Regions from separate parts of the Homo sapiens genome. Here region 2 is linked to region 1. Evidence: promoter capture Hi-C in human tissues and cell types (Jung and others, 2019). All regions are on one chromosome and are shown on one strand. The core of a region is centred on a gene start or on the middle of the fragment in contact, and the rest is flanking DNA. Distances in the headings are between cores, read along the strand shown.

Region 1 (6,882 bases), core at 2,146-4,645:
CGACATCGGCACCAATAATTGACGAGACCGGCTGGAAATCACGCAGAAAGGGAGCCCACTGAGACCGCAGGGGCTGACAAATCACTGCTAATAATCCTGTTAGGAACAGTGCGGCCAGCGGAGTTCGCAATAGCTTTATTTTTATAAAGTAGGCGCTGACAGTATAAAAGACAACGAGATCTCTTTTTTAAATAGAAGGCAGTGTGGTATAATGGTAATTATCCCATCAACAATTCATAGCACAGTTTGAACGGGAAATGTGGTTTTTAGTATATAAGTTCCCCTTCTTTTTCTTCTTTTTTTCTTTCTTTCTTTCTTTTTTTTTTTTTTTTTTTAATTTTCAGGTACTTTAGGCTTTCATTTCTTTTTTCCCCACAGTTTCCAGGGTCAGAGAAGAACTGTTCAAGGAACTGCTTTAGGAGGGAACGACTAAAGCATCACTTGTAGTTTGAAGGTAGAACTGAACTATAATTTGAAAGTTTTCCTTTAGCTTGGAGCATGTTTTTCATGCTCCACTAATTTGGAGCATGTTTTGCAGGCTTTTTGACTTAGATAATAACTTTTATGTCATGATCAAGCAAAGTGAAACTGCAAACCCAATAATGACTGTTTCCTGCTCATCCATTCATTTAACGGAAAACCACAAACCCCAAACATCTAAAATCAACAACAACAAAAACCTCCAGGGGTCAAATCAGAAGTTCTCATTTGTAAATAAACACAATTCTTTCCCTTGGATTTTTGTTTGTTTGCTTGTTCAGTAATCCCTCTTTTACATTTCTGAATCCCCTTCCCCCAGCAAAGACATATCTAAAATATTTTTAAAAATCTGTTTGCATTATTTGAATCCAAGTAAAGGAAAAGATGGACAAATAGAAAAGTGTCCTTTTCTAGTAAGTATAAATGGTTGTATATAGGACAGTGTTCTATGAAAGCTGCTCTGTCCTCACACAGTGAATCTTGATAATCTAAATATGAGTTTTAAATCATGTCAACAGCTCAGCTATTCTAACTTCTAGGCCTTATAAGACAATTTTCTCAGGATCTATTTGCCAACCTGCCACCCAGAAGATATTTTCTAAGCGGGCTAGCCATCTTAATTCAATCTTATGTATTTTAGGACTAGCCTATTATCTTACAGATAACATCAAGCCCACAGTTGCAAATCATCAAGCTCCAGAGTTAGTTTCAGAATCTGCGAATGTCTTGAAAACTCGGAATAAATTTGCTTAGAATTTATTTAAGAACTTGAGTAAATTCAGGCATACTTGTTCACAAATATGCATGTTACTCATTTGCAAATCTTTAGATATATAGAGAAATTATTATCTGGCCTATCTAGCTCCAGGTACATGGGTCTATCCACACCTGGCAAAAAAAAAATACAGAATTAGGCGGTGCTCCTGGTTTTTACTGGACAAAATTCTAACAAGAGGAGTAAAAAAGAAAGTCATGTTTGGATTAGTAGTACTTTCAATTGAGCCTAGTATCTGAAGTGTTGACAAAAGGACTGTTGGGCTGCTTCCCAACCAAACATATCTGATGGACTGAAGAGAAAGTATTGATGGGGAGGTAGAGGGAGCCTCAAAAAAGCGACAGAAATTCTGAGTTCAGTGAGGACCTTAGTGAAGCAGCCGAGCTAAACTTCCCTTTGCAAAATATATATGTAAATATGTATGCATTTCTCTGGTCACTGATGTCGGCTCATTGCCTGGCAAATCCCCGGCCCCTTCTGCCTTTGAAATTCCATCTGGGCAAAGTCACTTACCTTCTGGGAACACCACTCTCATTTTGAGATAGCTGGTCGTGAGTCTGATTATGGATGCTTTGTCCAGCTGCGAGGTGATAGCCGAGGGCAAAGGCAGTAATTTAGCCAGTTCATAAAATTCACTGTTTTCCTTCTCCCTCCTAGTCCGCGCAGCATTTTTGGACTTTTCTTTCATTGTGTCTTGTTCCCCCTTTCTTCTCACAACTTAAGCTCCGCAGATTCATCCAAAACCAAAAATAAACTTTCAATTAGAGATCATATTTGGCAAAAACATAAAACATACTTTGAATAAAGAGGCTGAAGTATTTGCACCAAGAACAGTGTATTGATGGCAGTAAAAGACCAGCGGGGGTGAACGGAAAATATGTTCTTTGAAAATTCGGGATGCAGTATAGGAAAGTTGCTGATCCACCGAATTTGGGCGATCCACCGAATTTGGGCAATCCTGAGGGTCGTTCAGGGTATCAAATGCCAGTGGGACCCCTGAGGAGCCAGCCTTTTCTTCTACTGCCAGCTGCGAACCCTGGTCCTCGGAAAATCGACATAATAATCCCTGACGTTTGCTCTTCAGTCTCGCGGCATTTAAGGTATCTCCGAGCCCCTTTGGGAAGAGCAGGAACCCCAGACAACTCTTTCAAGGCCCTGTGAAGACAACAGCATCAGAGCATAAGAGATCAGCGGCTCCACAAGTACTCACACACTCGTCCCAATTCCAAAAACACGGCCGGAAAGGGCCTCAGTGCGCCTAGCCAGGCGTTTTGGGTTTGTTTTTAAAGAAACGGGTAAATCGGCAGCGAGACAGCCCCCTGCAAATAATGCTGGCATTCCCTCACCCATGCCAGCCGCATCCTCCAGACCCCTGGGAAGTTGCCCAAACAACAAAATACATATTTCTGAAGACCCGCAAGGGATCTTCCGCCGCGGATCCCCGAGTCCGCGCCCAGGCCGGGCGCACGTCCCAGGAAAGCAGGTTTCCGCAAATCAGAATTCCTCCAAGGCGAGGCAGGGGCCTTTCAGCTCCCTACCTTGGCAGATCTGGACCTTGGCTACCTCTTTAACTTGGGTCTCAAGTCTGAGGGATTCCTCAAAAAGTGACACTTACACACCAAGTCTCTCGGGACTCCCAAGGCGACCCAGCGCTCTGGCTGCCCAGCAGGGGCTGCAACAAGCGGGGCCCAGCAGCGCCAGGTTAACAGGTGGCGCGCTCGCGACAGCCCCTCGCAGGCTCCCCCGGGGGTGGGAGGCGCCGCGGCCTCTCCCACACCACCGCGGAGCTGCGGGGCTGCTGGGCGGGCGCGGGGCGTCTTCTGCTTCACCTACCTTCAGTCCCCACAAGCGGCAGAGGTTTCGGGGGCGCCCATCTCTTAACTGTTCTCATGCCTACCGTCCAACCCAGCGACACCGCCGGCCTCTCCGCTTCCCACCGGCAGAGAGGAGCAGAGCATTCCCGGCTCCCTTTTCTGGATCATGAATTGGAGGAGGGGTGCGTGGCAGAAAGAGGAGGATGCAAGCTTTGGGACGAGTGAGGTGATTTTAGAATCCTGGTCCTCCGTAGTTGCTACGAAGCCAGTTCACTATTATTCCTAATTGGAAGCCGAAAACTGCCCCCCGTAACTTCTTTATAGCTTAAGGGTTTAGCTTCAACTTCACTCCGGGGCCGCCTCTCTCCCGCCCTCCCTCAATGCCACTCACAAGCCCCCTCGCCTCCCATTGGCCTGGCGCGGCCAGGGGCGAGGCGCTCATTGGCCAATAGGGCTGAGTGACACGAGTCGGCCCCGAGCCGCCCTCCGCGCGCCCAGGCTCCGGGCTCTGAATCTTACTACCCGCGGGACCGCTGGACTCCTAATGAGCTCAGGGTGCCGGGTCGGCGCTGTCCGGTTGCCGCCGCTGCTCGCGGCCTCCTGGGCCTTCCCGACGTCGTGCGCGACCCGCGCTCCTCGAGCTCCCTGGGGTCGGGTGGTTGAGCGCTCAGTCCAGCGCGGCGGCCCAGCAGAACCGGGAACGTCCGGAGGCAGCGGAGGTCGGGCCTGCGGGTTAGGTCTACCGGCGGAGGAGGCAGGGTTCGCCCAAAGGCCCATCCCGCTGGCAGTCGCTGGCCGACGGCGTGCGCGAGGCCGGTTTGGGGAGTTATTTTCTCTTTCTCGTTTCTCTGAAACCATGGCGACACGGAATTCATTGCCAGAGGAAATAAATACAATAACTGTCTTTAAATTAATCCCAAAGAAGTGCGTCTTTTTCGAAATGGCTTGGGTTTGGGGCTGATTTTTTTCACCGTGGAAACTCGGCCGGGGAGTTTTCCTATGGGGAGCAGCTAGGGGGACACTAGGGGAAAAGCTTACATTTCAGGGCAAAATAGAATGATTGATATAGAGATACATAGCTCCCAACAGTCCTTTATCTTAAACATTAGCCAACTCTTTGTCGGGTTTTGTTTCAGGAAACAAAAGTCCAACATGATTATTCCTTACAGAAAGGATACAGTCTACATGAATGAACTTAACGATGCTCGCGGTTCCCTAATAGGAGCTGTTTAAACAAACGCTCACCAGGACTCTTGCTGACTAATTATCTTTTAGAGACCCTCTAATTTGAACCGCCTTCTCTTTCTCTCATCTGAGAAAACACAACAGGTAGCATCAAGAAAAAGTCAAATTGTCCCAAAAACAATTGTTGTCCTCACGAATCACCCCCTACAGACTCGACTCCCGGCTTGGTTTTGGTACGCCGGTGACCAGATTCGGCTCCTAGAGGTGCGTTTGGAGGGAGTTGTTTCATCTACCATAAAAATCAGTGAGAACACCAGTGACGGGGCACTCATCCTCTCGTTTGTGGCGCTAATTGCCACTGAGAAAATAAATACTTTGAAGAGGGGTGTGTGCCATTCTGCTGATATTCAGAACAACTTTAAGAGTGTTTGTTCAAAAATACAGACATCTGCCACCTCCTTGCCGCCCGATGGCAGTAAGATAGTCGTAGAAGGACAACAGCAGCTTTCTGGTGTTATTTACATATCTGGGCAACACCTGGCTGGAGGAGGTGAAAGTTTTGGATAGAAAGAAAAAGAAAGAAGCACGGAGATTTTGTAGGTCTTTCAAAACTGGAATCCAGCTAATGGACTCTAATCTAGGAGGAGTCATTTCCCCAGTGGCTGTAGCCACTTAGAGATCTGGTTCTGGGCGCCTTCCAACCACCCAATGATGCGCTTTTAACAAGACATAGCTAGAAGATAGCGAGAGATGCACTGTGGCTCACTTATACACAAGATTCCAGAAAGATCAGATAAGGTCAAGTTGGCTACTACATGTAAAGTCGGGGGTGGAGGGTGCGTGTGGAGAGGGGAAATAACCTTTCTTGACCCTCCTCTCCCCTCCAACCAGGTCACATATAGCTGCCAGGCGAAGCAATGACACTTAGGGTTAAGAGGAGGTTTTCCATTCGACTGTGTTCTAGAGAGGATTTCAGTCAAGACCGCGGTTACTCTAACCCTATCTCTACTTAAAACAACATGCCGGTGTGGAAGTGCCTCTCTGGGGTTTGAAACCTGTGTCCACAGCAGGGACTTCCGGGGGGTGGAGGTAGGGAGTCAGGTAATGCTGGGTTTCCAGAAGAAAAAATGCAGTAATTTTGCCTTCAGAAGCAAGATGGGCAAAATGAGTAAGGAAGTCTTCACGCTTAAGGCTGACGTCCTGGGGGGCTGGGCGGGCTGTTCCAATGTCCCAGTGAAGCTCAGTTGTCAATGAGCCAAGTAGATGTCGTTTAATAAACAAAGTGAATGCACGACCACGAGGTGACGGCCTCTCGCTAAGTCCTCAGCACACAACTGTCTGAGCCGCGTTTACCGAGAGAGTGAATTAGCATGACGACGTAACACCTGTTTTTCTAATCTTTGAACCTAGGTTGGAGCCGGAACGCTGCTCCTTCACTCCCCCTCCCGGGCCCAGGGACCTGGCTTTGCACCCTCCCCACGACCCCGCCTGCCAGCCCCCCACGCGCCCTGTAGCCGGAGGCGTGAACCGTGAACCGGAACCTCAGGTGCCTCCCACGTGTTCTGCGAATTTACGTTCGCCTCTAGCACGGGAAATTTTAAATGAATTTCTTGAAGCTCAGAGACTAATCGTTTTGCCAATATAAGGAGAAAAGCCCCAGAAAGGAAGAGACGGTCACGGGCGACCCACTAACCCCAAATAGAGATCCTTATAGAGTCTAGGCCGCCACCTCCTTGAGCCGGTGGCCTTAAAACCTAGCCTCTGGCCCTCAGGCACCCAGAATGCGATCCTGATGTGGGAGAAAACCCATGCGGGGCTGCAAAAAAGTGTCTCCCTCCTTCCCCCACCAAGCAGGGCGAACAGCCTAGTGTGATGGCGACACTGTTCCCCCAAGAGTCCCTGCCACTTCTGGGGCAACCCAGGATGCTGCCCTCATGGAGCCTGCCCCGGACCCCGGAGGCCAGGACATGCAGGCGTCCGTGACTCTACCCCAGGGGAGCCAGGCCGGGTAGATTCTGGAACCAACGCGCCTTTGTGAGCAATGTCTAGCATGCCGCGCGCACCCAGAAAGAAGGGGGAGCGGGCACCTCAAGGGCCTTCTGACCCCTCCCCGCAAAAGGCAAAATCAAGACTACAGAAGGTGAACTTTCGGTTGTAAAAGAACGAGTGAACACATACTGGAATTCCGGTGCAAACCGCCGAACCGGGGTTCAATGCCTCGGCCCCCGACCCTTGCTCTGGCACAGACCTCCACCCTGCCTTCCAAAAACTCCTCTAATGACTCTTCTTTGCTCCAGGCTGTTTGAGCATCTTATCAAAACTAGAATGATTTCTGTCCACCACCATTCTCTTTATTTTTTTGCAGACTGCTAGGGACGCACACATACACTTTTGCATGCTCGCACATCCCACATGCACAGTTGCACAAAGCACACACACATGGATTTTGCTCAATGTCCAAGGTCAGGATGAAGGATATATTTATAACCAAGATACAAAATCTGAAGATGGTCACTCGAACATCTCAGTATGTTACATCCAGATGTTCACTCTGTCACTGAAAAGGACAAGTTATCTAGGGACATATTATTGTCTTAGGAAATATTAACATTTTCTAGTTCCAAGTAT
Region 2 (6,604 bases), core at 3,655-6,154, 400 kb before region 1:
CTGTAAGTGCAAAGAAACTAACAATGGTCAATTTGTTTATTTTTATCAATTATTCTTTTCATGCAAATGGAATGACGAAAAAGACACTAGACTAGGTACATGTGTCTGGATTCTGGTGCAACCTGTGCTATACACTGACTGTACGACCTAAGGCAACTATCTTAGCCTTTCGGGACTTCATTTTCTCCATAGTATACTGACTAAATGATCCTCACAATTTTTTTCCAGTTCTAGAATGCTAGGAATCTTTCTTGTTAATTTTTAATTTTTGTGGGTACATAGCAGGTGTATACATTTATGGAAGAAATGAAATGTTTTCATACAGGCATGCAATGTATAATAATCACATCATGGAGAATGGGGCATCCATTCCTTCAAGCATTTATCCTTTATGCCATGAATAATCTAATTATACTCTTTTTGTCACTTTAAAATGTACTACTAAGTTATTATTGACTGTAATCACCCTGTTGTGCTATCAAATAGTAGATCTTACTCATTCATTCTATTTTTTGTACCCAGTAAACATCCCTACCTCCTTCCAACACCTCCACCTACCCTTCCAGCGTCTGTTCACCATCCTTCTACTCTCTCTGTTCCATGAGTTCCATGAATTTAATTATTTTGATTTTTAGATCCCACAAATAAAGAAGAACTTGCAATGTTTGTCTTTCTGTGTCTGGCTTATTCTGCTTAACATAATGACCTCCAGTTCCATTCATGCTGTTGCAAATCTCATTTTTTTATGTTTGAATAGTACTCTATTGTGTACATGTACAATATTTTCTTTATCTATTCATCTGTTAATGAACAGTTATGTTGTTTCCAAATCTTGACAATTGTGAGCAATGCTACACCAAACATGGGAGTGCAGATATCTCTTTAATATACTGATTTAATTTCATTTGGGTACATACCCAGCAGTGGGATTGATGGGTCATATGGGAGCTCTATTTTTCGTTTTTTGAGAAAGCTCCGTTTGGAGCTGTTTTCCATGGTGCTTGCACTAACTTACATTCCCGTGAACAGTGCATGAGGGTTCCCTTTTCTTCACATCCTCTCCAGCATTTGCTATTATCTGTCTTTTGGATGAAAGCCATTTGAACTGGGGTAAGACGATATCTCATTGTAGTTTTGACTTAACATTTCTCTAATGATCAATGGCATTGAGCACCTTTTCATATGCCTGTTTGCCATTTGTATGTCTATTCAAATCTTTAGCCCATTTTTTAATCAGGTTATTAGATTTTTTCCAATAGGGTTGTTTGAGCTCCTTATATATTCTGGCTATTAATCTCTTGTCAGAAGGGTAGTTTGCAAATATTTTCTCCCATTCTGTGCGTTGTCTCTTCACTTTGTTGATTGTGTCCTTTGCTGTGCAGAAGCTTTTTAACTCAATGTGATTCCATGTGTCCATTTTTGCTTTGGTTGACTGTGCTTGTGGAGTATTCCTCAGGAAATTTTTGTCCAGACCGATGTCCTGGAGATTGACCTCAATGTTTTCTTGTAGTGTACTAGGATTCTTAAAAGCCACTTTTACAGATATCTATGTACATAAACAAATACGTTTATGCCTTTTCATTTAAAAATAGATTTTAAGTTTATTTTACTAAAATACTGAGTTATCAGTGTGTAAGTCTAAAACATTATTCAATGGAATAATGTGCTTTTTCAAGCACTACATAATTCCAAACAAAATAAATTCGATGGCATAAGGAGAGAGGCACCAAAATCTACCTCTATGCTCCCCTTTCATCCAAGACATAAAAGAAAGCAGCAGCAATCATTTCTTCTGCTAACCCCAGTAAGTAACTAATGCAGAATGCTTTGATGTGTTTGACAGACAATTCCCAAATGTGGTTTTTAATCCATAGTCACAGAGCTACCTGGTTCATTCTCTAAAATTTCTCATGTGGAAATTTATTACGTATTCACATGCACTCATGCTGAAAGCCTCCTTTGCTTGCTACTTAATCACATTTCCTAAATGACTGTCCTACAGCCATTAAGTTTATTAATGGAATCCCAAACAAAGGAATTTAGCTTTCATAATAGCACCAAAGAAAACTTGCCAAAATTACTCCTTAGAATTTTTTTAAATGACATGTCAAAATTCCACGCGTATACAAGATTGTTTGCCATAGCGAACAATCTTTAGATTGGAGACAATCTAAAGGCTCATTAAGAGGTTAAAAATATTTGATACATAATTGGTATGTAAATATTACAATCCACTTATGGTACATGTTATGGAGTATCACATAGCTGTTAAGAAGAATGAGAACTTGTCTGTACTCACATGGAAAGAAAAATATTAAGTAGAAAATAAAGCTAGTTGCATAACAGATGTTTGTCAAAGAGTTAGCAGTGTTAACTTCTTGAAGCTATGCATTAGAGGCCTGGGAAGTGGTACAGAGGTTAATTTCACTTTCTACATTATTTCATATTGCTTAAATTTCTCACAATAACCATACATATTTCAAAAATCAAAGCAAAAAGCTCTTCCAGCAACACTTGTAATTACCTCTTAAATATACAAAATTATTTAGACATGCAACTATTAAGAATTCATATAATACTTGTGAAATTGCATCCTCTTTTCAGGAACTGAATAGAAAATGGATAGAAATTATTTTTTTTCCAGAGCCAGACTAGCTTATGTTAAAAGGTTTCAACCCAAATGTGCTCTCTCTTTATCTCACCATTCTTTTTAAAAATCAAGGTCTCTAAAGCAGAATCTTCATGTTGCTTTCTCTTAGTAAATGTTATGGTATTATATCACTATATTCTGGCTTCGAAAAATGAATTATTAGGCCCTTCATTTAATTTTTGCCTTTTTCCTCAAATAACAGAGGGCATCTTTAACATGAGTTAGTCATCCTTACCTATGGTCATGATATTTCCATTTGTCATGCCGTGCCCCTTGCCAACCTCATCTTTCCCATTCTCTATTATCCTAAATGTATACTTCCAACCCCCACCTTTCCCACTTCCACCCTGGAAGATCTTTTAGTTACCCACAACCCAGGTTGGAGGACCTGTTTACTATTTTATGCACCCCCACAATGTTATGATCAGAGTTATTTATGCAAAAATTCCCGTTAAAGCTATAGAATGTGTAGGTTAGAATCAAACACTTGCACCTATTAAACACTCTATGAAGAGTGACCTCTTCCTGAAAGTCTTGTCTGTGCTTTCTATTGTTCACACTTCACTGAATATTAGCTCTACCAGTGAAATCTCATGCAACAAAACTATTCTTTTTCTTAAAAAACTTCTTAATTGTGGATCTTGTGTATAGCAGAATATTTGCATAAAGTTGTTTTGATATTGTAAGTCAATGTTGTTTTTCTTTAAGTATATGTACTAATGTAGAAGGTGTGCAATGCCAGAAAGTACAAGGGGGATTGAACAGGTGTTTTGGAGGTATCAATTTTGCAATGAGTATTAGCTACATCTGGAATTTCATATTCCAAGAGTTGGATTTCACTCGTGTTATGAACTCATGATATTACAGGCCTGAAATTCAGCCCCTGCTTTTTAATAACTGTGCAATATTCAACAACTTACATAACTCTAATTCTTTGTTTTCTCACAAAATGAAGAAAATAATAACCATTTCAGTCATTTGTTGGGACAATTAAGCAGGAGGAATTGTGAAAACATCCAGCACAATGCCTAACATACAAGCACTCAATATGTTCATTCCTTCTTTCTTTTTTCCCTTCCTCAAAAAGAATTGAAAGAAATAGGACCCTTAATCTCTATAAGAGGCATAACGATGGAAAAATTCAACACCACTGGGCCTTCAATGCAAGCTATAAATCACTTACAAAAGTGAAAACACATATTTGGGGTTATTACTCAAATGAACTGTAGATCATGATAAGATTACACCAGCCATACTCTAGTGAAACTTAGGTGTCATGAAGAAAAAAAAAAGATCAATTAAATGATGATTTTTTTATGCCTTTGTGAAATATATAAGGAGATTTTTATCAGAAGCAAACTGAGTTTTTCTGCTTATTTACAAGAAATCAAAGAGAATGAAATGGGATTTATATAGGAAAGATTTTGATGGAAATAACAAAACGAAATGTTAAAGAGGGCAGAGAGCTCCGGATACTTCAGGGTATCAAAGTCTTCTGGTAAACTTTTAGGTTTATGACTCTTTGATTGCATTTTAATCAATACTTAATAGTTATTGGTGTTTGTGATCACAATATTTAAAGGTTATTTGTTAGTATGTTCACATCCAACAATTCTTCTATTAATGTTCCTTGTTCATTAAGAAACTGTGAAATGTAGATGCTGAATGTTTATTATTTGAATTAGGCTTTTTTAAAGACATGGTCTTTCTCTGTCACCCAGGCTGAAGTCCAGTGGCATGATCTCTGCTCACTGCAGCCTTGACCTTCTGGGCTCAAGTAATACTCCTACCTCAGCCTCCCAAGCAGCTGGGACTACCCATATGCACCACCATGCCCAGCTAATTTTTGTATTTTTTTAATAGAGATCAGGTTTCTCCCTATTGCCCAGGGTGATCTCGAACTCCCAAGCTCAAGTAATCTGCTCACTTTGGCCTCCCCAAGTGCTGGGATTACAGACATGAGCCACTGTACCCTGCCTGAATCAGGCATTTTAACATAAGATTAATGAAAGGGAAAATTCTTATCAGCTCCTTCCACACCACAAGTGTTGAAATGATAAGCTCAACATCATACTACACAGTACAATGCACAAATGATGGAGTATAAAGTGGCTTATTCTGATAGAAAGCCACCCTTTGCAAAGTGGCCTTTGTGCTTAATTTTTAAATAGAAATGAAGGCCAGAGGCTTCCTTCTGTCTCACCACTTTTGATTACCCCAGGTAAGCTTCTATTCAACAACTCAAGAATAGGAAACTATAAATGCTATTATTTAAAATCAACATCAAATTGTGAGGAAATAAATACACTCTCAAGACTATTTTCGTTCTGGAATTTTGTACTTAAAAATGTGTTTGCATGTTTTTAACCTTTTGGGCTGAAGTACATCCTTTATATACCGAATTTGCTGAGTACTTTTTTCATGAAAGAATGTTGAATTTTCTCAAATGCTTTTTCTGCATCTAATGAGATGATTATATTATTTTTGTACTTCATTCTTTTAATGTGGTGTATCACATTTATTGATTTGTAAACATTGAACCATCTTTGCCTTCAAGGGATAAATCCCCCGGATTATGGTGAACGACCCTTTTAAAGTGTTGTTGAATTCAGTTTGCTAGTATCCTGTTGAGTATTTTTGCATGTATGTTTATCAAGGATATTGGCTTGTAGCTTTCTTTTCTTGTGATGTTTTTATCTGGCTTTTGTATCAGAGTCACGCTGGCTTCATGAAAAAGTGTGGAGGTATTCCACCATCTTCTGTTTTTGTGGAAAAGATTGTGGAGGATTGGTAGTAGTTCTTTAAATGTTTGATAGAATTCAGCAGTTAATCCATCAGGTCCTGTGCTTTTCTTTAACAGGAAACGGTTTTTTTTTTTTTTTTTTTTTTTACTTATTCACTTGTTATTGCTCTGTTCAGATTTTCTATTTCTTAATTATTTAGTCTAGACAGGTTGTATGTTTCCAGGTATTTATCCAGTTCTCCTAGGTTATGAAATTTGGGGGCATATAATTGTCCATAAAAATCTCTTATAATTCTTCATATTTCTGTAGTGTCAGTTATGTCTCCACTTACATTTCTGACTTTGAGTCTTTTTTTTCTTTTGTTAGTCTAGCTAAAAGGTGTCCATTTTGTTTATCTTTTCACAAACGAACTCTCAATTTGATTGATCTTTTGTATAATTTTTCTGATCCTTATTTTCTCCTTTCTTTTGCTAACATTGGGTGTAGGTAGTTCTTTTTTCTGTTTCCTTGAGGCATAATGTTAAGTTGTTTATTTGAGACCTTTCTTCTTTTTTGACATAGACATTTATTACTATTAACTTTCCTCTTAGAACCACTTTTGTTGCATCTTGTAAGTTTTGGGATGTTGTGTCTTCATTTCTTGTTTATCTTGACATATTTTTAAATTTCCCTTTTAATTTCTTCATTGACCCATTTGTTGTTCAAGAGCATGTTACTTAATTTTCATGTATTTGCTAATCTTCTGAAAATCCTAATATAAAAGATAGTTTTATATTATTGTGGTTGAAAAAGATATTTGATATGATTTTAATATTCTTAAATTTGATAAGACTTGTATTGTAGCCTAACTTATAAATTCTCCTGGAGAAAGATTTGTGTGCTCTTGAGAAGAATGTGTATTATGTTGTTGGATGGAATGTTCCATGAGTGTCTGTTAGGTTCATTTAATCTAAAGTGTTGTCCAAGTCCAGGGTTTCATCATTAGTTTTCTTTCTTAATGATCTATTCAATATTGAAAGTGGTGTATTAAAGTCCCCTGCTTTTATTGTACTGGAATCTATCTCTCCCTTCAGATCCTTTAATGTTTGTCTTACATATCAGGTGCTCCACTGTTGGGCACATGTATGTTTACAATTGTTATGTCCTTTTGATGTTGACTCCTTTATTATTATATAATGACCTTCTTTGTCTTTTTTTTCAATTTTTGACT

Evidence for each region. Contacts are between HindIII fragments. The study calls those that stand out against the background at their distance.
Region 2: a contact is called between a fragment that was not itself captured here and the fragment with the promoter of SIM1 in region 1, in 1 of the 25 tissues and cell types used here (lymphoblastoid cells).

Annotation. Positions count from the first base shown.
Region 1 is chr6:100,461,526-100,468,407 of GRCh38, forward strand. It overlaps SIM1 (SIM bHLH transcription factor 1), which reads right to left and starts at 3,396. Exons shown (of 12, transcript NM_005068.3): 1 at 3,089-3,396; 2 at 1,769-2,410. The coding sequence starts at 1,943. RefSeq lists an enhancer at 6,128-6,719. The HindIII fragment of the contact is 4,452 bases long and covers 1,310-5,761 here.
Region 2 is chr6:100,060,865-100,067,468 of GRCh38, forward strand. The region is part of intron 2 of MCHR2-AS1 (MCHR2 antisense RNA 1); the gene reads left to right. Among named protein-coding and RNA genes, the nearest start is that of MCHR2, 70 kb to the left of the region's middle. The HindIII fragment of the contact is 3,549 bases long and covers 3,131-6,604 here.